Linked DNA regions of Homo sapiens: all the other regions are linked to region 1. The links are contacts of gene promoters, found by promoter capture Hi-C in blood cells and fetal thymus (Javierre and others, 2016). All regions are on one chromosome and are shown on one strand. Each heading gives the region's core, a stretch centred on a gene start or on the middle of the fragment in contact. The rest is flanking DNA. Distances are from core to core; before and after follow the strand shown.

Region 1 (3,628 bases), core at 564-3,063:
TTCAAGCACATCTTTCCTGATTTTCTAACTGATCTTTGAGACCAAACCTTCTGAATCTACTTTCCAAAGTCTACATGCTGTTTGCAGTCCCTGGAGCAGAGGTTGTTAGCAAGAAATGGAGCACTTTGTGCCCTAACAACTTTTTGAGTAGTCAGGAAGTAGCTATCAATGACTGTCCATCATTAAAAGCACTATGTCACAACTTCATGCAAATCCAACAGCCAGCCCAGGGCTTCATTGTATCTCAGAGTAACATTCCTGCCTATGGTTTTTCTCTTACCCGTGTGAGTTCTAATGTGTCCTTGAAGCAACCAGGGTCTGGAAAACGCCTTGCCGCAGATCTTGCAAACACAAGGTAATGTGTGGGTCCGAATATGCATCTTCAGGGCGCCCAGGCTCACATATTCCTTGTCACAGTATTTACAGCTGAAAGATTTTCTAGACTGGGCATCGCAGTGCAGCTGCTTATGTTTGGCCAGCCCAGAAAAAGTTGAATAGGTCTTATTGCATAAATTGCACTGAAACTTTTCAGCTTCAATGGCATGGGGGTCTGAAAGCTTGGACTGTAGTCTTTCCTCTTCATCACTAATGGGGCTTTCTGAGCCACTGTGGTCCTTGGAGGAGGTGTCAGATGGAGGAGGGGGACTCACTCGCCCCAAAGATGAGGAGTATCCGGAAAGAGGAGAGAGGCCATTGGGTAGCTGGGCGTGGAATGGAGCAGCGGTAGTCCACACAGTGATGGGGCTGTATGCTCCTGAGCTGAGGATCTCTGGTTGTGGTATGACAGGCATGGAGTAACTCTCATAGAGATACGGGGAAATAATCACTGGGAAAGAAAAGGGAGGGAGAGAAGATTAAGGCAAAAATAATTAAAAATAAATCCACACGCAAGTATACACACACTGGAAAGATATTTAGCAACACACACGTGATTTTCTTAGGAAGAAGATAGACCCATTTAGGAGGGCATACACACTGGTAAAATGTTTCATTTCCACCCTGGCACCTACGGAGTTACTGTACTTAATGCACACATAGGCTGACAGCTGCACGGAGCTATAGGTGCTCTGAAGTCAGACAGTGCAGCCAAGCCAGTGCCTTCGCCGTCCCCATTGAGGAAGGAGAGCCTCAACATTATTTTTAAACATACAGAAAAGTTGTTTTCCATGTTACGTATGGGCTATTTAGGTGTATTACGACCGTGAGTACAAAGATATGCCTGCATCAAGCCGCCTTCTAAAGGAAAGGAGACTTAGTGCATGAAAAACGCAGTAATTCAATCCTTATGTTGCTCATCTTTCACATACTCATTATGCATGTATACACAGGCTTTAGCAAACGAAGCTGCGAGATTTGAATGAAATGTTCCTTGTTAGTCAAGAATTTTAAAAGTTTTGAATTAAAACGAACCCTAAATGATCAAAAGAATGTAAGCTCCCTTTCAGGACACTGTTAAAAAGGAAAACAGTTGAATCTTTGGCTCTTTTGTAATGGTATTTGAAGGGTAATACGTAGATTCATATTTGCAAAGCTCTAGATACGTAGTTCTAGATATATTTTTCTCTTTTTACCTGTATGTGTGTCCAGTTCGCTGTAGTTTGGCTTTTTGGAGGCGTTGAAATGCTTCTTGACCAGGAAGGAGCGCGGCATCTTGCCAGCGGGTCTGGCGGGCGCCCGGCGCGGATAACGGTCCGGCGGGAGGACACGGCGGTCCCTACAGCATCGCGGCGGGCCAGGCTCGGGCAGGGGCCGTGCTCAGGTGCGGCAGACGGACGGGCCGGCGCCTCTGAAGTCACCCGGCTCCTTTACGAACTGAGCCCGTTTTGGCTGGGAGGGTTTTTTTTTCCTCTCTTTTGCAAGAAAGATCCAATCACAGCTGAGAGGTTCAGATTTCAGCTCCTCCCTCTGGGACAGCTGTGAACAGAGGAAGAATCTGTTGTCAGACTAAATTATTCTGGTTCAAAATGGGCTGTTTTTTGAGATTTCAGTGGAGAGGAAAAAAAGTGTTTAAGTATTTTCAAGAGAGGTAACCTCGCTCGGTGAGCCCCGCCCGCGATCCACGCTCTCTGGGAGCTAGGAGGGGCGCAGGAGCCGGGGTCTCTGCCCTGCCCGCCTGGCTTCCAGATGTGGTGCAGCGCCAGCGCGCGGGGACACAGTGTCCGCCAGGAGAAGGAAGGGCCGCCCTGCACCACACCAGGCCAGCCTCTGGTGTTAATGAGAGCCTATATTTGGAAGTGGCATCTGGAGAGGTTTGCCTTGCACAAAGACCAAATAATTACCTCTTGGCTTTTGAAAAAGGAAGGGGGAAGCGGGAAGACAAAGGCGCCTGTGAGCGCGGAGGACGCTCTCCTGGGACTCTGGCCTGGAGCGGGACTGCAGCCTTGCGTGCGGCGAGGGCGCTGCGCTACTCAGGGCTTCCGCGAAGCCAGGGGCAGCGCGGCCGCGTGCAAATTAAGTACTCATGTCACCGTGTTAGCTATGGTGGCTTGAAAGAAATGCTTTGTAGCCCTCTAAAGGCAGGCTGATCGGAAGAACTGGAAGATTGCAAAGATAAAAAGGAACTCTGGCAGAGAAGGGGGGCAAGAGGTAACTGTCATTTGGAACCACCGGACATTCTCTCACACTTTTGACAAGAGATCTTATCTTTTCATGTATTACAGTGCATCTTTTTTTTTATGGGAAAAAGGGTTGTATGGGTCTTTAGAGACAATTATTTTTATTTCTAATATTCCCCTGCTTTTATGTGGTGCTATTTTCATCAGTATAAAGCCATTAAAATCCATCTCAGTATCTACCAGTTTCCTGTATAATGCTAAAAAAGAAATTGAAGGATATTATTATGAATATAGATTGATTAAAGTTTTAAGAACCCAGTCTAGTAACTGCAAAAACACCTTTATTTTGTGTATGGTCTTCAATCTAAAAATACTTTCAGGTGGTTTATTTTAAATATAAAATTTCAAGCATATTTTAAAGCATCTCTGTCCATTGCAGACTTTTATCCCTATCTTTTGCTAAAAGAATAAGGAAAGAACAAATTCACATGAAGATCACCCTACTCTTGTTTCTAACAGGTGCTGGAGGAAAAAAGTGAAAAAGAAAATAACAGTGGTGATGTCAAGACTTGTCAGAGAAAAGTGCATTGTCAGGTTGCATAACTTCTTAATCTTGGAATGAGAAAACAAGAGTGTATGTGTGTTTGGAGGGTGAGGTGGGGCACTCACAGATTTCCTAAGCTAATTTCAATGATTATTCTTATTTCTTCCAACAGTCACTAATTTAAATGTCAAACAGAGAAAATAATTCAAAGGAATCCTTATGCTAATGGAACTGTACTTGCAGGAGAGAGGAAAATATGAATACATATTCGATTTCTCCACACACAAACTGGAACCTGGAGTAAAAGCCAGAGGCAGTTTTCTAAGCTTGCTACTCTATGTGAGGGTTTGTTCGGATGTAGGCACCTGGGTTTATGAGAGCAGGAGTCCTCCTTGCTTTTCACTCCATTTCCCACAAAACACACATTTTTGTTACAGATATAGCACAGTTGAGAAAACACATATCGCCATGGCTATTATTTCCTTGTTTCACTCTACACAGTCTATTCACAACAAAGAAGAGTGTTAGA
Region 2 (3,628 bases), core at 680-3,179, 470 kb before region 1:
ATGTTAGGAATAGACTATTAAGAAGGAAGCTGCGTCTGGAAATTAAGGCAGGCTTGGGTGTTGGGGGTCTCTATCCCAGCACCCCAGAGCTCAGCGGTCAGCTCTGCCTTGCGGAAATCCTCAGGCCCCCTTTTATGCTCCGTATTGTAATTTGAAGATTGGTATTTATGCTCTGTACAAACAATTTCATTAGAAAACTCAGATTAATGACAGTTCTGCCTTAAGTCTTAACAGATTGTTTAATGGATGGTTGCTGGACCCATTAAGATCTGTAGCAATGAAAATAGTATCTATCTTTTGAATAAGATAAAGTTGCTATTCTGTATTTGTCTTAATTCTTTGTTCTCATTCATTATCTTGCAGAGCACATTCACCCTGTGTCCTAGAGACATTCTCAGGTGTTTAAGTCAGGGGTTGCCCTCCCATTGGGAATCTGAAGTACTCCTCTAGGGTGTCTTCTTCTGGCCCTGGTAGGAACAGATGCTTGAATGATCTATCTGGAGAAGACACCTGGGAAGAAGCCAACCCCTAAGAGAAGACTAGATTTCCCTTTTCACATACAGAAGGGGAACCTGCACTCTTGTGTAACAGGTGCTGTAGCTCCTGCAGGGAGAGGGCATCAGGTGAAGGGCAGCTTGCTCCCAGGGTGCCTGGCAGGTGCGCCGTCACCCTACACAACTGCTGCTGAATGCCCTGCTGGCCCCAGGGACCCCGAATGCTCCCCAGCAAGGCCTTCCTGCTCTCCTCTTCTAGGGAAGTCTGGCCAGAGCCAGCTGCAGTCATTTATGTGGAATGCAGGTACAATTCAACACGGGCAGCAGGAGCCCCCCAGGGTGCCTCAGATGAACGGCTAGTGGCTCAAAATTAGGAGACTTTCCAAGGGAAGAGAGGAAAGAGGACTGTGTCTGGATGAGGGGGAAGGTGTGAAACCAAGACCTGGCAGCCTAGGGATGTGGGGGCTGCCTGAGCTATGGGCCCCTACGGTCCTGGAGCCAGCCTGTTATGGGCCTGAGGAGCTGTGGGAGTGCAGGAATCTGTGTCCTGGTCACAGTTCTGACACTTGGCTGACATCTCTGTCAGCAGGTGGGGGCTGGGGGATTGCCTGGGGTGGGGAATTCCTACCCAGTCCATTTTTGAAATTGGTGCTCAGGGGCCCTGCTACTTGAGAGGCTGACTTCGGGGGACTCCATGTGACAAGAGGCGAGAGAACAGATGCCTTAGGGTGTGTGACCTTTGTGAAGCAGGCCCCATGAAGGTCACTCTGCATTTATTAGTACTCACAGAAATTGAGTTTAGACTCAGTGCTGTCTGACGGAAATAGAATGTGAGCTTCAGATTTAACATTAAATTTTTTGGTAGCTGCATTTTTAAAAAGGAAGAAAGGAGCAAGTGAAATTAATTTTAATTTTAATGGGATATTATTGTTATCCCAACATATCCAGAATATTAACCTATCAATATTAACCATGTGAAATTATTAAGGAGATACTTTGCATTTTTCTTTTCATACTAAGTCTTTGAAATCTGGTGTGCATTTCACACACAGAGCACGTCCCGGTTCACACCAGTCGCATTTCAAGGGCACACCCAGGGGATGAGGATGGGCTGGACCCTTTACATTTTGGATCTGACTAAAAATGAGGAGATGGGCTTCCAGAGACTGTGTGTCCAAACCACAAGCGACTAAACCCTGGTTACGCTGGGAGAATCTGGGAGACAGCTCATCAAGAAATGTTATCTGTCCATCATTACAGCAATCAAACCACGATACTGGATTGCCTCATTTGTGTAAAGTCCTCTAGGCCTTGTGTGTGTGTGGGAGGTGGGGCGGGGTGGGGGGGGTAGGTGCCTGTGCAATAATAAAATACAGCTCTGATAAAAGGTCTTAGATTGAACTAAAATGAGCTGAATGCCCACTACTAGGTTTATGAACTGTGTCTACACAGTTACACCTTCCTAGGCCAAGACAGGAGTTCTTTACTGGTTGACAAATCTTTCACCATCTTGTGTAGTATTTTTATCAGAAGATTACAGATATTTTCATTAAAATACCACACAAGGTTTAAAAAAATACTACATAGAAGGTTTAAGATGGAACACTTCGTGACGTTATTTCTAATATTTTTGTTACATTATGTAAATTTAAGACTCTCAATCTTGTTGTGAAAGACAGAATATGCTGGACAATTAAGGAGATGATTTATTTAGGCTGTTGCAGTAGGGGAGAAGTTTCATCAGTGAGGGCTCAGTGAGATTCATCATTCCCAGGGATCAACACTCACTCTTCCCTTTAATGTGACATTTACACTCACATTTCTCTTCATCATTTTAGGCATTTCTCTTTCAATAAGACTGGCCTTCAATGTATTAACACTCTGGACTGTGCCACCCCCTCTCAACAGGTGGTTGAACCGATTCACAGGAATACCACCAGCAAAAGTCCTGGTAGAGTGTTTCTCAGACCCACTTCACCTCACTCAGGAAGATGATGATTAACCTTGGTGAATATTGTTCACCAATGATGATCTTCATTCCTCTTGAATAAGAGGGGAGAATGACAAGGTTGAACTTTACCTTGTCCTGAAATACAACAATTGAAGGTCAAGAAATCCTCCTCTACCCTCAAAGTAAGTCATTACATAAGACACCTGAGCTTGTATGTTTATTGCAGCACTATTTACAATAGCGAAGATCTGGAATCAACCTAAATGTCCACCAACACCATCAACAGGAGACAGGATCCAAAAAAAAATGTGAGATATACATATACATACACATACACACACACACACACACACACACACACACACACACACACACACCATGGAATACTATGCAGCCATAAAAAAGAATGAAACCATGTCTTTTGCAGTAACACGGATGGAACTAGAGGCCATTATCCTCAGTGAAATAACTCAGAAGAATAAAGTCAAATATTGCATGTTCTCACAAATGTGACCTAGAAATGCATACCCATGAACCTACAAAGTGGAAGAATAGACCTTGGAGACTCAGAAGGGTTGGAGAGTGGAAGGATGGGTGAGGGATGAAATACCACCTACTGGGTACAATGTACACTATCTGGGTGATGGTTCCATTGAAGGCCCAGACTTCACCACTTTGCAATGAATGTATGTAAGAAACCTGCACTTGTACCCCTAAATATATTATAAATAAATAAGATATCCTCATCCTCTTCTACCGTTTTGTGATCTAAGAGAGAAATGGACAGTCCCACAGGACCCCCTGCCCTCCCATATTCCGGGATGAGACCCTCCTCTAGCCTGGCTCAGTGGCTTGGAAGACCTGGCTCCTCTCTCTTGTGAATCCCAGGAGACTCTGGACGACTCCCTGTTTAACTGCTTTAACACCCCAGGCTCTTGTCCTTTCTCAGTGGGTTCCAAGCCACTAGGCAGCCCCATTCCCTGAGTTTCTGCAGTTCCCGAGCCAGGCTGCTGGTGTTCTTGTGATGCTGTGCACAGGTATGGTTATCTCTTGTACAAGGGTGTGCATGACCTGAGCATTCTGCTCAACCTTCTTCTGACCTGTCCAGGGGAATCCAGCCCATGCAGGGTCTGCTGTGGGCAGGGGTGGGGGGGGTGGGGGGTGCAGCTCTGGGAGGTTTGGA
Region 3 (3,628 bases), core at 719-3,218, 450 kb before region 1:
GATGAAGGTAAATTCAACTCTAGGTTTAGAAAGGGAAGACGGTTGTGTGCTGTCTGGCCAGTAAGCAGCCCTGAAGTGGTCTGGGAATAACTTCTCATCCACTAACCATGCAGGCTCCTAAAAGCACCACATCCATGTCCCAGCGAGGGACATTTTCCTCCCCTAGACCAACGGCCACAGCTAGGGTTACAAATGGCGATGGTGGAGAAAGTGGGATCCTGTTGCAGCAGGGGAAAGCCCTACCTCAGGCTTGCTCAAACCAGCAGCATCACCAGAGGGCAGGCATCATCCTCTCTTCGCCCTCCTCATGGTACCCTGTGGCAGGCGTTATTGTTTCCATGTTAAAAATAAGAAAATGGAGCCCCAGGGCAGTAAAGTGACCTGGCTTGAGTGAAACCTTCAGGGTGCAAGTAAGCTTGGGTTTCTGACTCTGAGGCCAGCGCTCCCCCCACTCCGGGGAGTTTGCCTCAGGGAGGAAGACCTCCGCATTTAGATGACTGTGGGGAACAATGAAAGGACACCTCTGCCTTTCTGTAAACAGCAAGCTTGACATAAGTAACTCTATCTTGGAAAACTACTCCATCTTACATCTCAAAAGGCGTCGTGCCAATAGAGAAAAGATGTTCCCCTAATCAACAGAGACTGCACCTAACTAGACAAGGGCATGAACAGGCACACGCTTACTATCAGTCCTTGCCAGATGACTCAAGGGCCATAAAATGAGCAGAACTTCACTAGCTAACAAGACCCTCTGGGCAGATGCGCACTTAACCAGATAAGACATGACCCTTTACTATCAGTCTTCACCAGAGGACTCTGTGGCCATAAAATGAGTGAGACTTCATCAGGTAGACACTGCTGTGTTGGCAGACCCTGTCCTGCTGTCACTTGTGATGAGCACCTGGCATCTGCTGATGAAGCCTCTGCCCACATCAAAGCCTCTTCCTTGCAAGACACTGGCGTCCGTTGGGATCAGCCCAGGACACTCCCCTTCTCCTCGTCACTCTCCTTGGACTGCTTCATTAGTTCCTTTTCTGACCTCCTTTTCTCTTGATGTTGAACGTTACTTTGTTTGATGTGAAATGTTTAATCTATAACATTTATATATTGATTAAATATACTACTATGTATGGTTTGCAATATTGACTGACTTGTGGAGTGGCTTGAGCCTGTGTTTCCATAGGTGATACTAAGAATTGCCTCCTTGAGAACTCCAGGTAGTTTGTAGCTTTTATGATTAAAATAGCCTCTGTAAATTCTGACCTGTGGAAAGACATGTGTGGGCCTGGTTATGTCTCATCTTACACTGCTCATGACTGTTTCCCATTGGGTGAGGCAGACAGCAACTGTCACATTAGAGCAGAGGAAGCAGCGAGATTGTTTCTTTATCTAGAAAGTAATAGGGTGGCTAACATCCAAGAGGTGACCTTCCCATGGCTCTGGCCTGGTGGCTGGGGGGCGGGGGTGAGGGAATGCCAAAGAGGGGACATGCTCTTGGTGCCAATGAATGCCCAAGGCCAGTCTGATTGCCTGGGCTGTGCCTGTTACAAGCACATTACCTTGGGTGAAGTGTGGTGAGGCCAGATGCAGGTCAGGAATGACACCAGAAAGAATTTTACAGTTTGTTATTCTCATGGCTCCTTGGGGAGGCTCGGATAGGGTCAGGAGGCCCTGAATGAGGGGAGTGAGCTCAGGGCAAGCTCCCTTGTTGCAGTTTCTGCATGAAGGAGCAGGTGAGGCCAGGCAAGCAGGCTGCGGATTGGTGGGATTGAACAATGTCAGGGCTCCGGAGCAGTGGGGCTGTGCTGGGCTGTCTGGTATCTGTCCTGGGGTGATGAGGGCAGGTGGACAGTGGCCCAGAGTGGGAGAGCCCAACAAAGGCAGCCTCTGGGGATGTGGAGTGAATCTGCTCAAGAAGGGGAACTGACTGACTTCTAGCCAGGGCCTCAAAACTGGATCAGGGCAGCATTTCAGAATTGCGGCACCCTGCCCCAGCCTGGCCCCTGCTCACAAACTCCTGGGCACACCCCAGCCATACCACCTGCCCAGCTGACTCTTGGCTCCTTCTGGCTCCTGGGAGCAGAGTCTGACTGTGCACAAGGCCAGAGAGTGGAAGGGCCCCCACTGGGTCCAGCCTCAAAGCAACTGAAGAGGCTTCAAACTACTTGAAGTTAACTTCTAGCATCTCTTAAATATGCAAGAAAGGAAATAGAGATTTGGGTATTAGTCCGTTCTAATGCTGGTAATAAAGACATACTCAAGACTGGGTAATTTATAAAGGAAAGAGGTTTAATTGACTCACAGTTCAGCATGAATGGGCAGGCCTCAGGAAACTTACAATCATGGCAGAAGGGGAAGCAAACACATCCTTCTTCACATTGGTGGCAGGAAGGAGAATGAGTGCCCAGTGAAGGCGGAAGCCCCTTATAAAACCATCAGATCTCATGAGAACTAACTCACTATCGGGAGAACAGGATGGGGGAAACTGCCCCCATGATTCAATTATCTCCACCTAGTCCCTCCCATGATACATGGGGATTATGGGAACTACAATTCAAGGTGAGATTTGGGTGGGGACACAGTCAAACCATATCAGGTGTTAAGGAAATGAAAGAAAATTGTTTTCTTGAGGTGGTGGGTCAGGACTGAGTTGAATCCCCAGTGTGCAAGGTAAAGGCACCAACCTTCCAAATGACTGTCATGAGAACAGAATCCTTACCAGCTCTCACTGCCTGCTGCTCAGTTGTAAGCCAAGCCCTAAATGGGGTTTTCCATGCAGATTTAATTTACTTACCTGAGACTTACCTTACCTAAGGTTGCATGTGTCCGTTGCAGAGCCGGAAGTTCTGTCTCTAAGGTCCATGCCCTTCTCAATACACAACATGATTTCAAATGGTAAACTTGTCTTCCCTGAATCTCCTACTCCAACGCCTCCCAACTTCCTCTACCTCTGCTCCTAGCCCCAGTCATTGAGGGCTGTGCTGATTTTGACTTGGAAAAGTAAGGAATCAAAAACCATCACTTCAAAGGCTGACCATAAGGGCTGCTGTGAGGTATTCAGGGGGGACAGCATGAGAGCTTCTCCCCCTGGAAATGTTTCCCAGACTTTCCCAGAGAAGGAGCCCAGTAGACAGACGGACTGCCCCCCTTGGGGGATGTGCAGCAAAGTGAATTGGGTAGCCAGGTGCAAAGTCAAATACGTCTTGGAGGCCTTTGTGTCAAATCTTATAAAGGCCTCTTTGCAGTGATACTATTGTTTTCTGTCATGTCGGCTAATTATTCAGTAGATCAGGTCCTCTAGGAAGTAGTACTGTATTTATCCAATGACCTTGTGTCTTTCCATGATCCCTCAAGAAAACCTTTTTGGGCATAAATAACCCAGCATCAGATGAAAGCTTTTCTAGCACTTCCTGTGGGGCCCAGACCCAAGTATGTTCTCAGGAAGAAATCAATTACCTTCATTTATTCATGCTGCAATCATTTGCTCATTTGCTTGTGACTTCCTGTTGTGTGCCGGGCACTGTGCCTCCTAGTGAATAAGAAACACTGTCTGTCCCCAGTCCCTGGGACTAGTGGGCGTGTGGCATAGCCCAGGGTCAGGTGCGTGGAGCCAACGCGCCCACCAGTG
Region 4 (3,628 bases), core at 396-2,895, 430 kb before region 1:
TAGTTCTTTGAGCATATTTATAATGACTATTTAAATTTTGTGTGTGTGTGTGAGTTTTCCCTTCCAAGATGGCCGATAAGAACAGCTCTGGTCTGCAGCTCCCAGCATGATCGATGCAGAAGACGAGTGATTTCTGCATTTCCAACTGGGGTATCTATTTCATCTCACTGGGACTGGTTGGACAGTGGGTGCAGCCCATGGAGGGCAAGCTGAAGCTGGGTGGGGTGTTGCCTCACCCAGGAAGCACAAGGGGTTGGGGGATTTCTCTTTCCAAGCCATGACAGACCGTAACTGGAAAAACAGGACACTCCCACCCAAATACTGTGCTTTTCCTGTAACCAGCAGACCAGGAGATTCTCTCCCATGCCTGGCTCAGCATGTCCTATGCCCACAGAGCCTTGCTCACTGCTAGCGCAGCAGTCTGAGATTGACCTGTGAGGCTGCAGCCTGGCGGGGGAAGGGGTGTTCACCATTGCTGAGGCTTGAGTAGGTAAACAAAGCAGCCAAGAAGCTAGAACTGGGCAGAGCCCACCACAGCTCAGCAAGGCCTATTGCCTCGATAGACTCCAACTCTGTGGGCAGGGCATAGCTGAGCAAAAGCCAGCAGAAATTTCTGCAGAATTAAACGTCCCTGTCTGACAGCTCTGAAGAGAGCAGTGGTTCTCCCAGCATGGCATTTGAGCTCTGAGAACAGACAGACTGCCTCCTCAAGTGGGTCCCTGACCCCCATGTAGCCTAACTGGGAGACACCTCCCAGTAGGGGCCGACAGACACCTCATACAGGTGGGTACCCCTCTGGGATGAAGCTTCCAGAGGAAGGATCAGGCAGCAATATTTGCTTTTCTGCAGCCTCCGCTGGTGATACCCAGGCAAACAGCGTCTGGAGTGGACCTCCAGCAAACTCCAAAAGGCCTGCAGCTAAGGGACCTGATTGTTAGAAGGAAAACTAACAAACAGAAAGGAATAGCATCAACATGAACAAAAAGGACATCCACACCAAAACCCCATCTGTAGGTCACCAACATCAAAGACCAAAGGTAGATAAAACCACAAAGATGGGATAAACCAGAGCAGAAAAGCTGAAAATTCTAAGAACCAGAGTGCCTCTTCCCCTCCAAAGGATCACAGCTCCTTGCCAGCAACGGAACAAAGCTGGACAGAGAATGACTTTGACGAGTTGACTGAAGTAGGCTTCAGAAGGTTGGTAATAACAAACTTCTCTGAGCTAAAGGAGCATGTTCTATCCCATCTCAAGGAAGCTAAAATAATTGAAAAAGATTAGACGAATGGCTAACTAGAGTAAACAGTGTAGAGAAGACCTTAAATGACCTGATGGAGCTGAAAACATGGCATGAGAACTTTGTGATGCATGCACAAGCTTCAATAGCCAATTCGACTAAGTGGAAGGATATCAGTGATTAAATATCAAATTAATGAAATAAAGTGAGAAAAGAAGTTTAGAGAAAAAAGAGTAAAAGAAACGAACAAAGCCTCCAAGAAATGTGGAACTATGTGAAAAGACCAAATCTACATTTGATTGGTGTACCAGAAAGTGACAGGGAGAATGGAACCAAGTTGGAAAACACTCTTCAGGATATTATCCAGCAGAACTTCCCCAACCTAGCAAGGCAGGCCAATATTCAAATTTAGGAAATACAGTGAATACAACAAAGATACTTCTTGAGAAGAGCAACTCCAAGACACATAATTGTTAGATTCACCAAGGTTGAAATGAAGGAAAAAAACATTAAGGGCAGCCAGAGAGAAATGTCGAGTTACCCACAAAGGGAATCCCATCAGACTAACAGCAGATCTGTTGGTATAAACCCTACAAGCCAGAAGAGAGTGGGGGCCAATATTCAACACTCTTAAAGAAAAGAATTTTCAACCCAGAATTTCATATCCAGACAAACTAAGCTTCATAAGTGAAGGAGAAATAAAATCCTTTACAGACAAGCGAATGCTGAGAGATTTGTAACCACCAGGCCTGCCTCACAAGAGCTCCTGAAGGAAGGACTAAATGTGGAAAGGCACAACTAGTACCAGCCACTCCAAAAACATACCAAATTGTGAAGACCATCAATGCTATGAAGGAACTGCATCAATTAATGGGCAAAATAACCAACTAACATCATAATGACAGGATCAAATTTACACATAACAATATTAATCTTAAATGTAAATGGGCCAAGTGCCCCAATTAAAAGACACAGAGTGGCAAATTGGATTAAGAGTCAAGACCCATCAGAGTGTTGTATTTAGGAGACTCATCTCACATGCAGAGACACAAATAGGACCAAAATAAAGGGATGGAGGAAGATCTACCAAGCAAATGGAAGGCAAAAAAAAAAAAAAAAAAAAAGCAAGGATTGCAATCCTAGTCTCTGATAAAATAGACTTTAAACCAACAAATATCAAAAGAGACAAAGAAGGCCATTACATAATAGTGAAGGGATCAATTCAACAAGAAGAGCTAACTATCCTAAATATATATGCACCCAATCAATACAGGAGCACCCAGATTCATAAAGCAAGTCCTTAGAGACCTACAAAAAGACTTAGACTCCCATGCAATAATAATGGGAGACTTTAACACCTCACTGTCAATAATAGACAGATCAATGAGACAGAAGGTTAACAAAGATATCCAGGACTTGAACTCAGCTCTGCACCAAGCAGACCTAATAGACATCTACAGAACTCTCCACCCCAAATCAACAGAATATACATTCTTCTCAGCATCACATCACACTTATTCTAAAATTGACCACATAATTGGAAGTAAAGCACTCCTCAGCAAATGTAAAAGAACAGAAATCACAACAAACTGTCTCTCAGACCACAGTGCAATCAAATTAGAATTCAGGATTAAGAAATTCACTCAAAAACACACAACTGCATGGAAACTGAACAACCTGCTCCTGAATGACTACTGAGTAAATACCGAAATGAAGACAGAAATAAAGATTTTCTTTGAAACCAATGAGAACAAAGACCAATGTACCAGAATCTCTGGGACACATTTAAGGCATTGTGTAGAGGAAAATTTATAGCACTAAATGCCCACAAGAGGCAGGAAAGCAGGAAAAGATCTAAAATCGATACCCTAACATCACAATTAAAAGAGCTAGAGAAGCAAGAGCAAACAATTCAAAAGCTAGCAGAAGGCAAGAAATAACTAAGATCAGAGTAGGACTGAAGGAGATAGAGACAGAAAAAAAAAAAACCCTTCAAAAAAATCAATGAATCCAGGAGCTGGTTTTTTTTTTTTTTTAAAGATCAATAAAATTGATAGACCGCTACCAAGACTAATAGAGAAGAATCAAATAGATGCAATAACAGACAATAAAGGGGATATCACTACCGATCCCACAGAAATACAAACTACCATCAGAGAATACTATAAACACCTCTACACAAATAAACTAGAAAATCTAGAAGAAATGGATAAATTCCTGGGCACATACACCCTCCCAAGACTAAACCAGGAAGAAGCTGAATCCCTGAATAGACCAATAACAGGCTCTGAAATCAAGACAATAATTAATAGACTATCAACCAAAAAAAGTCCAGGACCAGATGGATTCACAGCCTAATTCTACCAGAGGTACAAAAAGGAACTGGTACC
Region 5 (3,628 bases), core at 376-2,875, 410 kb before region 1:
CAGGACTTCAGTTACTATTATGATATAGCATCAAAAGCAAGTAAAACAAAACAAAACATTTTCCTCATATTTTCCTGTGATCTATTACAAGGCATGTCTCTAAGTTTTGCTTTATATGGCTTGTGTTTTGTAGTCTATTAGAGTAAGGCACTTGTCTTAACAAATAACTCTAAAATCTCAGGGTTTTAATGCAGTGGTTTATTTCTCACAGTTTGCATCTAGACTTGGAGATGATAAAGGAGGGTGGAGACAATTAAGTGGATATGCAGGATGGAGGGATGGGCAGTGCTTGCTCCACAGAGTCACTCAGAGATCCAGCCTCTCTCCACCTGCAATGTCGGCCATTGTCTACAGCCAGGTTTCTCAATCTCAACACTATCAACATTTTGGGCTGGGTAAATAGTTGTTGTGGGCACTTTCCTCTGCACTGTAAGATGGTCAGCAGCATCCCTGGTCTCTACCTACCAGTTGCCAATAACACCCTGCCCAGTTGTGACAACCAAAATATCTCCAGACATTGCCAGTGTCCCTTGGGGGCAAAATTGCCCCTGAGAGCCAGTGGTCTAGGGCCTCCACATCCTCCCTGGGCTCCTGTGAAATGACAGGAGAAGCACAGGTGACAGGAGCAGAGAGAAGGAGTGGAGGATCACACAGGGAGCTTTGCCAGCCAGTGCTAAAAACTGTGTGTCTCATTTAACCCACATTCCATTGGCCAGACATAGTCACACGATGGTACAAAGAAGGCTGAGAGTTGCAGTGAAGCTGTGAAAAAATAGAAAACCCCTAAAAGACACAAGTAATATTTTTACTTAAAATGACAATGATAGACTGTATAATAAATGAATGTTCTGATTCTCTGCAAATAATATCTATCTTCACATATTTCTGAATTTTTCTTCCTGGTCAATTGCAGCTGATTTTTGGTGGAGATATATCTATATATACATTTTTTTTAATTGAAAAATTTTTAAGAAATGAGACAGGGTTTTGCCATGTTGCCCGGGCTGGTCTCAAACTCCTGGACTCAAGCAATCTGCCCACCTTGGCCTCCCAAAGTGCTGGAATTACAGGTGTAAGCCACTGCGCCTGGGCAGGCAAATATCATATATTGTGCGTGTATGTGTGTGCATGTATGTGCACACATGTACATATACAGACGTAAACGCTTTTCCCTACATAATGTCTCCATACAACGCAGTTGATAACTGCAGCAGAGACTGATAGGAGATGTAGCAAAAGAAAGCAAAGCAGTGGGTCCTCCATGGCTGGAACATAAACGGAAGGGATTTTAATCACTGCCTACTCACACATAATTGTTGCGGGAAAGCCTTTGAGACTTGTTGAAGGGGAGATTCTAGAGAGGGGAGCCATAGGCTCACTCTAGGTGACAGGTCCTGTAGTGATGGAGACCTTAATGTCTGCCCGTACTTGGCGAAGGTGGAGCGCTCTATCTACACTGTAAAAATCTGTTAAAAAGTGTGCTGGTAGCAGGAGAGAATTAACCAAATAAATGTGGTATATCTGATCTTATGTATTAAAATAATATATATGGTTTTGGTTTTTTTGAGGGAGACGTGGCTTGTAAAAACAGGTTTAAACATTGAACAACTGACAATGTTTACTGACTATGAATTTCATGCAGGCTATTGTACTATGTGCAGGGGAGGGGTACAAAGGAAATGGAAGTCATGGCCCATGTACTTGAGGAATTTACAGGCTAATAGATTACATACACATGCTAGGGAATAGGCAACATGTTGGCTGACAGCCAGCTGGAGATCTGTTTGCTCGTTCACTCTATCTTCCTATATTTTCTGAGCGGTATCTCACACCAGAATAAGCAGGCCAGTTTCAAAGAGCTCTTCTTCAATTAGATGAGTATTCTTGTGTCTTTTATCATAAATACCAGACCACTTAGAGATTAGGCATGGGTTTACATGGGCAGAAAGAGATGAGTGAAATACTTTTTGAGTAAATTAAATCAGTGTGGATTATCACTCTGGGTGCTATTGATTTTTCACCACTCTCTCTTACTATTCCCAGATCTATAAAGATCCCCCATAAGTCAGGTTTCTGCCAGAAACAGGTAACTTTAATTTCACAGTTTATTTTGCTCACACAACTATTGCTCAAGTCCCTGATGGGGTTTGTGGGCCGGAGGCCACTATCCCAGGCTGCTTCATTGAGGACAGGCCTGGGCTTCTGCTCTCCTGGGGAGCACAGTCTTTTTCTTAAGGGGAGGGATCTTTCCTGGGAGGAGAGGAAAATCTCCATATATGAAGTGGAGTCTTGAAGCCCTACATAACTCAGGGTACTGCCATTCTTCACCTTTGTTAAACAGGGGGAAAACCCACCCAACTCAGCTACTGAAGAATTCCTTCAGACGTCCCCTGTCTGTTTCCTCCCCACTCTTACCCGATGCTGACCCTAGGTAATAACTGATTAGTCAGGAGAGGTATAGGAAGGGTCCTGCAGGGCAAATGCCTCTGCCTCCCATACTGCAGCACCAGAACCATGGGGCCTTCGCAGAGCAGGGTCACTGGGCAGCAAGAGCTTTTAAACATATTTGGTTATTTTTGTTTGAACTCATGTTGGAGGAAAAGACCCAAGTGAAATAACATAATACCTATTCAGGTTAACACTGGCTGAAACTCTTTTTATTTTTAGCATGCGAATTCCTTCATTTCCCAGGTTTCCTGTAATGGCTGAACTTTTAGTGTAAGCTGATCAGTTCTCAAAAAGCTAACTGAAAAATAATCTGAAATAGAGCTCCTTTTCAAATAAACTAACAAGGACTTTTGGGCAAAGGTACTTACTTCATTTCATTTTAGTTAAATAGTGTTCTGTTTTTAAATAGAGGTGGGCTTGTGAAAAAAGCTGATTTACTGATTTCCTGGCCCTCCACAAAGTACCATTACATGCATTATCTCATTAAAATCTCATAGGAAAACCCTTGGAATAAGCACTTCTTAAAAATCTCTATGTATGAAGAAATGAGATCTGAAAGACTATCTTAGTCTATTTTGTCCTGCTGTAACAGGATACTACAGGCTTGGTAATTTATAAAGAACATAACTTTATTTCCTCAGTTCTAGAGGCTGTGAAGTCCAATATCAAGGTGCCAGCCTCTGGTGAGGGCCTTCTTGCTGCATCAAGCCATGGTGGGATGGCAAAGAGAGAATGAGGGAGAGCAAGAGATTGAACTCACAACCTCAGGGTCTTTAATAAATTGGCATTAACCCATTCATGAGGGTGGATGCCTCAAGACCTAAATACCTCCTATTAGGCCTCACCTCCCAACACTGTTGCACTGGAGATTAAGTTGTCAACACATGCTTTTTGGGAGGCACATTCAAACCATAGCAAAGATCTTAGAGCAAACTGCCAAGGTTACAAAGCTGGTACATCTAGGGGCCAGAACCTGAATCTAGGGCCACATACTCTGAGGTTGGTTCTTAATGCTCACAAAGCTAATGCTTTAAGTGGGGCCAATTAATGAGGTGGTAGCATAAGGATAGCTCAGGAATTAGTTGGTCATTTAGTTCTCCCCATCCTCCTTCTCTACTCAAGTTTCAAACCAAAATATATTTGGGGTGTATCTGATGTATATTTTTGTTCCCAAAAATTT
Region 6 (3,628 bases), core at 720-3,219, 390 kb before region 1:
CCTCAAAACCTTCCACCTTTCCCAGCCTCCAATGTCTATGATTCTGCTCTCAGTGTGAACACATTTGAACATTCCCCATCCTGTTCCTTCCTTCCCTGACTGTAGTCTACCAAATTTAAGAAATGGGATCCCTTAAAAGTTGATCCCATTGTGATCACAGTCAGTGAACTTTTTCTCCTAAGAAGGGAAGAATGTGGTCTTGTGTGGATATTAAGGATATGAAGGGTGTGAGATAATGGTGGAAAGAACACTGAGTTGGATCAGGCCAAATGCATTGATACGGGCCCACTAAGCAGAGATTCTGAACTAATTTTTGCAGCGGCTTGGGGAGTTGAAAGGGGCTCTAACTCTTGGGCTGTTTGGCAGAAACAGACCAAAAGCCCACAGTGAATGAGTTAGAGATGATAACCCTGTCATGGCTTAATGCAGAGGAAGGGATTCAAAGCCTTGGGGAGGTTGGAATGCAAGAGAGGATTCGTCTTTCCAGACATCCTCACTCACCCTGGGAGGGCCCAGAACTCACACCTTTTCCCACGATTATGGGAAATGCATGTGAGAGGGGAGCCCCAGAACCCTTGATGAGCTGTGACTGCTCTTCTCTGTGGGCCACACCCTACAGTGGGGAAACATCCACACAGTGGGAGTATTAAATCCTTAAGTGGCAGGGGCCAAGTAGCATCACTGCATGGATGTGGACCCTGTAAAGGATGGCAGAATCCAAGCTGCAATCAGAAGAGCCTGACTCATGCCAGCCCGGGGCATCGGCTGGTGGATCATGGTATTCTCAGCAGTGAAACACACAGGAAACCTACTAAATTCTTACTCGAGCTGTATAAGCAGTTAAATTCTGGATCAAGCAAACTAAAGTCTAACTTGAACCATGAAAAGAGAGTCATGCCCCCTCAATCAATTCCCAGACTTGAGCCAGTTTACAGACTCAAACCCATTGAATGAAGGGGAGGTTGGGTCTCCTTGAACAAGGACCCTGGTATGCAGCCAAAAACTTACACTCCATCTTTCTTCCAGCCTTCCCTAAAGGAACTTACAGCCTTCAGAATGGGACTGCAACATAAGCCTTTTCCTAGTTCTCCAATCTAATGGCCATTAGGCTTCAGCTGCAACATCAGCCTTCTTGGGGTCTCCAGCTTGCCAGCCCACCCTGTAGATTTTGGACTTGCCAGCTTCCATAATTGCATGGGTCAATCTTTAAAATAAATTGCTCTCTCTCCCTCTATGCATATATACCTCCTATTGGTTATCCTTCTCTGGAGAACTCCAGTTAGTACAGGTATAGTACAGTCATTGTACACAGAGCGAGTGGATGTCACTGTCCACTCACCCTGGGGTTGCAAGTTCAGAGGGTGGTGATCTCTGTCTGATCACAGGGTGAGCTGTGTGAGCTGGGGACACTGTTCCTCATGTGCTTGGCATGGCCACTTGTGCTTTTGTTCTCTCTTTGCTCGTCCCACACAGGCCCAGACTCACTGCCTGTGCCCCTCCTATGGCGTGCTCATTCTCTGCCTCTGCACCTTCAGAGCTGTGTTCTGTGACACTTTGGAAAGCCCAGTTTCCCCATTCACCTCCTGGCCCCTTCTGACAGTCACTAACTAGTCTCTGTCCTCGTTCATTTTCAAACACTTTGCAGGACTCTGCTTCTCCAGATGCTCTTCTGTTTAACCTCTCTAGGCTCTAGTTGAACCCAGCTCTGTGAGCCACCCACTGCTGTCCACCAGGCTGTGTTTAAGATGTTCCCATGGCTTGCTCTTGGTGGGGTCCTCCCTCGCAGGCATTCAGTTTATCATCTGCTTGACTGTGGAATTGTAAATGTTAATGTTTTGTCTTTGTTCTTCCTCTACGTCTCTAAGGAGTACAGGCACCTAAAGTGCAATGCCTGCTGTTGACAGGACTCAAGTAGATGCTGAGTGGTGACACTTAAAAGTCCCCTTTTCTAGAATTCATAAAAAACAAGTGACTTCACCTGTCTGAGTTGTCATTCCTTGGTGCCTTGTTGAACTTTTAGCATCGTCACTGCCATACATGATAACTTTTCAGCGAGGTGCTTCCTAGCAGCAGGGCAAAAAATACTAAAGTCTGACTGTTTTCCCCCATGTCTTACTCCTTCATGCAAGCTCGTCTTTGACATCATGGTTCTTTCTTTGCAGAAGCTCTTCAAGGTTCTTAATGGTGTCTGTCAGCCTGTCTCCCTTCCTGCTGCATTCTGTGGCTTTTAACAAAGGCAGGCATTGGAATGCATGAATATTGAAGAGGTACACGCCGACAGTGTTACAAACACATCTTGAATTTTGAATTTTAAGTTAACATCCAGTAGAGCCAAGTTCTTCTGCATGTGTGCACCACCCATGAGCCTTAACACACGTGTAGATTTGTCTCATTACAGGCAAGACACAGGGTAGCTGCAGCACCTGGAGGCCCTGAGCTGCCCTGGGGCGATCACACCCTCCCCCATGCCACCCCAAAGCCATCAGTCTGCTCAGTCATGTAAATAGGGTCATACAGGTAGAAACCTCTTGATATTGGCGGTGGCTTCTCCTCCTCTTCCTCCTCCTCCTTCTTCTTCTTCAAGCTATTATTATTTTCATTTTAGGAAACAGAGATTCAAATAAATTAATTGTATAAGGTAACAAAATTCAGGGATGCCAGAGTTGATTCTGAGCCTAGTTCATTTTGAGTTCCAGTCTTACAATTAGAGACTATACAAATCTGTCCCCACACTGGATTCAGAGCATCTTTAAAATAATGAGATATTGTACTTGATAGATTGAAACTTACAATAAATATTATTTGCCTAGCAGCATACAGACATGGTTTGAAATATCATAAAATGGAGGAATTAACTTTGGATATTGGCATCTTCTGATTCACCCATGTGATTGAGGATATCAGTGGTTTGTTCCTTGTTGCTGCTGACTAGTATTTCATTGTATAGATGTGTCATAGTTTGTTTATTCATTGGTTAAAGGACATTTATATTGTTTTCTGTTTTTCATGATTATTACTAGAGCTGCTATGAATATCCATTTACAAAATTTTTGGTGAACATAAGTTTCCATTTCTCTAGAGCAGGGATGGAAATCTTTTTTTTTTAATGGTCAGATAATACATATTATAGGCTTTTCAGGTCACAAAACAACTCAAAATCGAGGCTACTATGCAGGAACTTTTATAACCACTTAAAAATGTTAAAACGATTTGAAGTTTGCACAAACCATAAAAAACAACAAAATGAAACAAAGCAAAAACAAGTTCCACTTGTTTTGTGAAGTTTTGCTGAAATATAGCCATGCCCACTTGTTCATGTATCTTTGTGTGGCTGCATTCTACAACCGGGGAGTTGACTTTCTGTGACAAAGACCTTGAGTCTAAAACATTTACCATCTGACACTTTAAGAAGTTTTCCAACTCCTGCTGTAAACACTGAGGAGTATATTTTTACATTTGTAAGAACTGCCCAACTTTTTCAGGGTGGCTGTGCCCTTTTACACTCTACCAGCGATGTATGAAAGACCCAGTTTTCCCCCATCCTCCCCTGCACTCAGTATTGTCAGCAGTTTTTGTTTCAGTCATTCTAATTTGTGCGTAGTGTTACTTTACCGTGGTTTTAATTTGT
Region 7 (3,628 bases), core at 549-3,048, 360 kb before region 1:
GGACAGGGTCTTACTCTGTCACCCAGGCTGGAGTGTAGTGGTGCCATCTCAGCTCACTGCAGCCTCGACCTCCTGGGCTCAAGCAATCCTGCTGCTTCAGCCTCCTGAGCTGCTGAGACTACAGGCTCAAGCCACCATGCCTAGTTATTTTTTGTAGTTTATCTAGAGATGGGGATTTGCCATGTTGCCCAGGCTGGCAATCTTGTAATCCCAGGCTCAAGCAATCTGCCTGCCTCAGCCTCCCAAAGTGCTAGGATTAAAGGTGTAAGCCACCATGTCCAGACTTTCATTTCATTCTTAGTAGTTGTGATTTGTGTTTTCACTCTTTATTTTTGTCAGTCTTACTATGGGCTTATCAATTTTATTAACTTTTTTCATATAACTAGTTTTTTGTTGCATTGATCTTACCCATTGTTTTCCTATTTTCAATTTTATTGATTTCTGCTCTATGTTATTTTCTTCTTTCTGGCTCCTCTAGATTGTTTTTCATTCTTTTTTCTCTAGTTTCTTCAGGAAAGAATAGAAACCTTTTCTTATTTCTAATGTAAACATTTAGTGTTATAAATTTCCTTCTTATTGCTGCTTTAATTACATCCAACATCTTTTGATATATTAAGTTTTTTGTTTTCATTCTGTTATATGCTTTTTAAAAAATATCCCTTTAAGGCTTCCTTTATAGCCCATACATTATTTAGAAATTTGTTTGGAGGTTTTCCTGTTGTCTTTGTTACTGGTTTCTAGTTTGATTCCATTGTGGTCAGAAAAGATATTCTGTATCACTTTAATTCTTTCACATTTGTTGATGTTTGTTTTATTGCCCAAACATATGAACTGTCTTGGTAAATGTACCATGTACACTTGAGAAATATTTGTATTGTATTGTCGTTATGTAGCTTGTTCTATGTATGTCGGTTAGATCCTATTGGTTGACTTTATTGTTCAGTCCTGTATATCTTTGATGAATTTCTGTCTTGTAGCACTATCCATTGGTGAGGTAAGGGGCTGTCAAAACAATCAACTATAATTTTCTATTTGTATATTTCTTCTTTCAGTTTCATCTGTTGGTACTTCATGTATTTTGAGGTTATGTTGTTTATTGCATACACAATTAAGATAAATATTTCTTTCTGGTGAATTATCTTTATATCCATATAGACTCTTCTTTCTTGTTTCTAGGAATTTTCTTTGCTCTGAAGTCTACTTTATGAGATATTAATATAACTACTACTGGTCTTCAAAAATTTTTATGTTTATATAGCTTATCTGTTTTCATCATTTTCCTTTTGACCTGCCTTGTGTAAGAGTTTTTTGTAAGCAGCATATAATTGGGTCATGTTTATGCATTCTGATAATGTCTACCTTTTGATTTAGACAATGCACATTTAAGGTGATTATTGGTATGTTAGTACTTAAAAGTGGTATTTTATTATTTGTTTTCTCAGGTGCTTGATCTTCTGTGTTTCTTCCTTTTCTCAGGATTACTTGAATGTTGTTTTAAAATTCCAACCTGATTTATTTTTAGTGTTTTAATGTGTCCCTTTGTATAGTTTTTGTCATGGTTGCTCTGGGTTTTACAATATACATATATGACTTACAAAAGTTGATTGGTATCAATATTTTACCATTTTCAGCTGTGTGTGGAAATCTCACTTCTCTTTAGGTCTTTTTATCTTTCCCCTTTAACCATCATTTTGTTATGAATCAGAAGATATTATTTTTGATTCAATTATAAATATAACTTATAAAACTCACCAGGAAAAGGGTAGTCTAGTGTATGCACCCATGTGTACTCTTTGTCATTTCTTTTACTTTCCTGATTCTCAAAAATTTTTTATCATTTTCTTTCTGTTTGAAGTACTTCATTTATATAATATTTAAGGATTGACCTGCTCATGACAAATTATTTAGTTTTCTGCATCTGAGAATGTTTTCATTTCCCCTTCCCTCCTGAAGGTGAGCTTAGCTGGATATAGAATCCATGGCTGACTATTCTTTTCTCTCAGCACTGAAAAAATATTGTTTAGGGTTTGTTCAGCTTTTTGGATCTATAGATTGATATGTTCTTGACAGATTTGTGAAGTTTTTAGTTATTATTTCTTTAAACACTCTTTAATTCCCCACCCCCTTCCTTTTCATTTTGAGACTCCAGCGATTTGAATGTTGGCTCTTCTGTCTCAGAGGTCAGTGAGGGAGAATGTTTTAATTTTTTAAAAATATCTACTTTCTCTCTGCTGTTCATATGGAGTGAATTCTATTGTTCTGCCTTAATGTTCACTGAAGGAATGCTCTTCATCTCTGCTCTACTGTTGAGCCATTGGGCAATTTTTTTTTTTTGAGATGGAGTCTCACTCTGTTGCCCAGGCTAGAGTGCAGTGGAGTGATCTTGGCTCACTGCAACCTCCACCTCCCAGGTTCAAGCAATTCTTCTGCTTCAGCCTCCCCAGTAGCTGGGATTACAGGCACCCACCACCACTCCTGGCTAATTTTTGTATTTTTAGTAGAGATGGGGTTTCACCATATTGACCAGGCTGGTCTCACACTCCTGACCTTGTGACCTGCCCACCTCGGCCTCCTAAAGCACTGGGATTACAGGCATGAGCCACTGCGCCCGGCCTCCATTCGGTTCCTTTTTATAACTTTCTTGAGATTTACTTTTTCATTTGTTTCAATAACATTTTAAATTGATTGTTGAAGCATTTCCATGGCTATTGCTTTTACATTCTTGTCAGATAATTCCAAATTTGTATTAATATCACTGTTGACATCAGTTTATTGGCTTTTTAAATTCAAGTTGTGAATCTCCTAGTTCTTGATATGACAGGAGATTTTCAGTTGTATGCTGAACATTTTGTCTATTATGTTAGAAGTCTCTGAGCCCTATTTAAATCATATTTTATTTTAATTTTTTATTTTATTATTATCACTTTTTTAAGACAGAGTCTCACTCTGTCACCCAGGCTGGAGTGCAGTGGCGCAATCTCAGTCGGCTCACTGCAACCTCTGCCTCCCATATTCAAGCAATTCACATGCCTCAGCCTCCTGAGTAACTGGGATTACAGGCGTGCACCACCACACCTGGCTAATTTTTGTATTTCCAGCAGACATGGGGTTTCACCATGTTGGCCAGGCTGGTCTCGAACTCGTGACCTCTGGAGATCCACCTGCCTTGGCCTCTCAAAGTGCTGGGATTACAAGCGTGAGCCACCATGCCCGGCCCAAATCTTATATTTTAGCAGCAAGTCACCCAATTTAGGTTCAGCCCACAAGTTTTGGACTGTTTTTGTGGACTGTGGTTCTGATGGCAGCTTAATTTTCGGAGTCTTTGCTGTGTTGTTTGGTCTGCTTGGTTTTTCTGGTTCCCTGGGGGCTCCCACTGGTCCCTGCTGGTGTGGCCTGTGGATTGGGAAAGGCTTCACTGGGCCAGCTGCCAGGAGGCTCTTGGTGGAAGAAGGATGTGGTGGGACCCATGTGCCTGTGTCCTGGGCAGCCCAGGCACCTCTGGTCAGGGCAGGAGAGCCCCAGGCCATGGACAACAGAGTTTCTCTGAGCAGCTGCTTGCAGTGGCAGGCCCCTTTATGGTTCCGCCTCCCACTCCTGTGTGTCTCAGCAGGAAAAGGGCATCTCAGGC

What was found. Contacts are between HindIII fragments. The CHiCAGO score rates a contact against its expected background, and 5 or more counts as called.
Region 2: a contact is called between a fragment that was not itself captured here and the fragment with the promoter of SNAI2 in region 1, in 4 of 17 cell types (M0 macrophages, M1 macrophages, M2 macrophages and 1 more). The highest score is 11.0, in M0 macrophages.
Region 3: a fragment that was not itself captured here is called in contact with the fragment with the promoter of SNAI2 in region 1 in 5 of 17 cell types (M1 macrophages, M0 macrophages, endothelial precursors and 2 more); the score reaches 9.8 in M1 macrophages.
Region 4: a contact is called between a fragment that was not itself captured here and the fragment with the promoter of SNAI2 in region 1, in 1 of 17 cell types (M2 macrophages). The highest score is 5.2, in M2 macrophages.
Region 5: a fragment that was not itself captured here is called in contact with the fragment with the promoter of SNAI2 in region 1 in 2 of 17 cell types (M1 macrophages and M0 macrophages); the score reaches 8.3 in M1 macrophages.
Region 6: a fragment that was not itself captured here is called in contact with the fragment with the promoter of SNAI2 in region 1 in 3 of 17 cell types (M1 macrophages, M0 macrophages and M2 macrophages); the score reaches 9.5 in M1 macrophages.
Region 7: a fragment that was not itself captured here is called in contact with the fragment with the promoter of SNAI2 in region 1 in 4 of 17 cell types (M2 macrophages, M1 macrophages, M0 macrophages and 1 more); the score reaches 10.7 in M2 macrophages.

The regions. Positions count from the first base shown.
Region 1 is chr8:48,919,616-48,923,243 of GRCh38, forward strand. It overlaps SNAI2 (snail family transcriptional repressor 2), which reads right to left and starts at 1,814. Exons shown (of 3, transcript NM_003068.5): 1 at 1,572-1,814; 2 at 281-826. The coding sequence starts at 1,650. It overlaps LOC107986942 (a long non-coding RNA gene), which reads left to right and starts at 1,942. Exons shown (of 4, transcript XR_001745895.3): 1 at 1,942-2,586; 2 at 3,075-3,149. RefSeq lists an enhancer at 1,925-2,004. The HindIII fragment of the contact is 2,868 bases long and covers 556-3,423 here.
Region 2 is chr8:48,449,849-48,453,476 of GRCh38, forward strand. The region is part of intron 3 of LOC105375821 (a long non-coding RNA gene); the gene reads left to right. Among named protein-coding and RNA genes, the nearest start is that of LINC02947, 66 kb to the right of the region's middle. The HindIII fragment of the contact is 4,299 bases long and covers 1-3,628 here.
Region 3 is chr8:48,466,013-48,469,640 of GRCh38, forward strand. The region is part of intron 3 of LOC105375821 (a long non-coding RNA gene); the gene reads left to right. Among named protein-coding and RNA genes, the nearest start is that of LINC02947, 50 kb to the right of the region's middle. The HindIII fragment of the contact is 2,850 bases long and covers 544-3,393 here.
Region 4 is chr8:48,485,527-48,489,154 of GRCh38, forward strand. No RefSeq gene overlaps it. Among named protein-coding and RNA genes, the nearest start is that of LINC02947, 31 kb to the right of the region's middle. The HindIII fragment of the contact is 539 bases long and covers 1,377-1,915 here.
Region 5 is chr8:48,508,244-48,511,871 of GRCh38, forward strand. No RefSeq gene overlaps it. Among named protein-coding and RNA genes, the nearest start is that of LINC02947, 8.0 kb to the right of the region's middle. The HindIII fragment of the contact is 4,761 bases long and covers 1-3,628 here.
Region 6 is chr8:48,527,876-48,531,503 of GRCh38, forward strand. No RefSeq gene overlaps it. Among named protein-coding and RNA genes, the nearest start is that of LINC02947, 12 kb to the left of the region's middle. RefSeq lists an enhancer at 2,181-2,744. The HindIII fragment of the contact is 7,462 bases long and covers 1-3,628 here.
Region 7 is chr8:48,560,985-48,564,612 of GRCh38, forward strand. All of the region lies in intron 2 of LOC101929268 (a long non-coding RNA gene), which reads left to right. Among named protein-coding and RNA genes, the nearest start is that of LINC02947, 45 kb to the left of the region's middle. The HindIII fragment of the contact is 6,044 bases long and covers 1-3,628 here.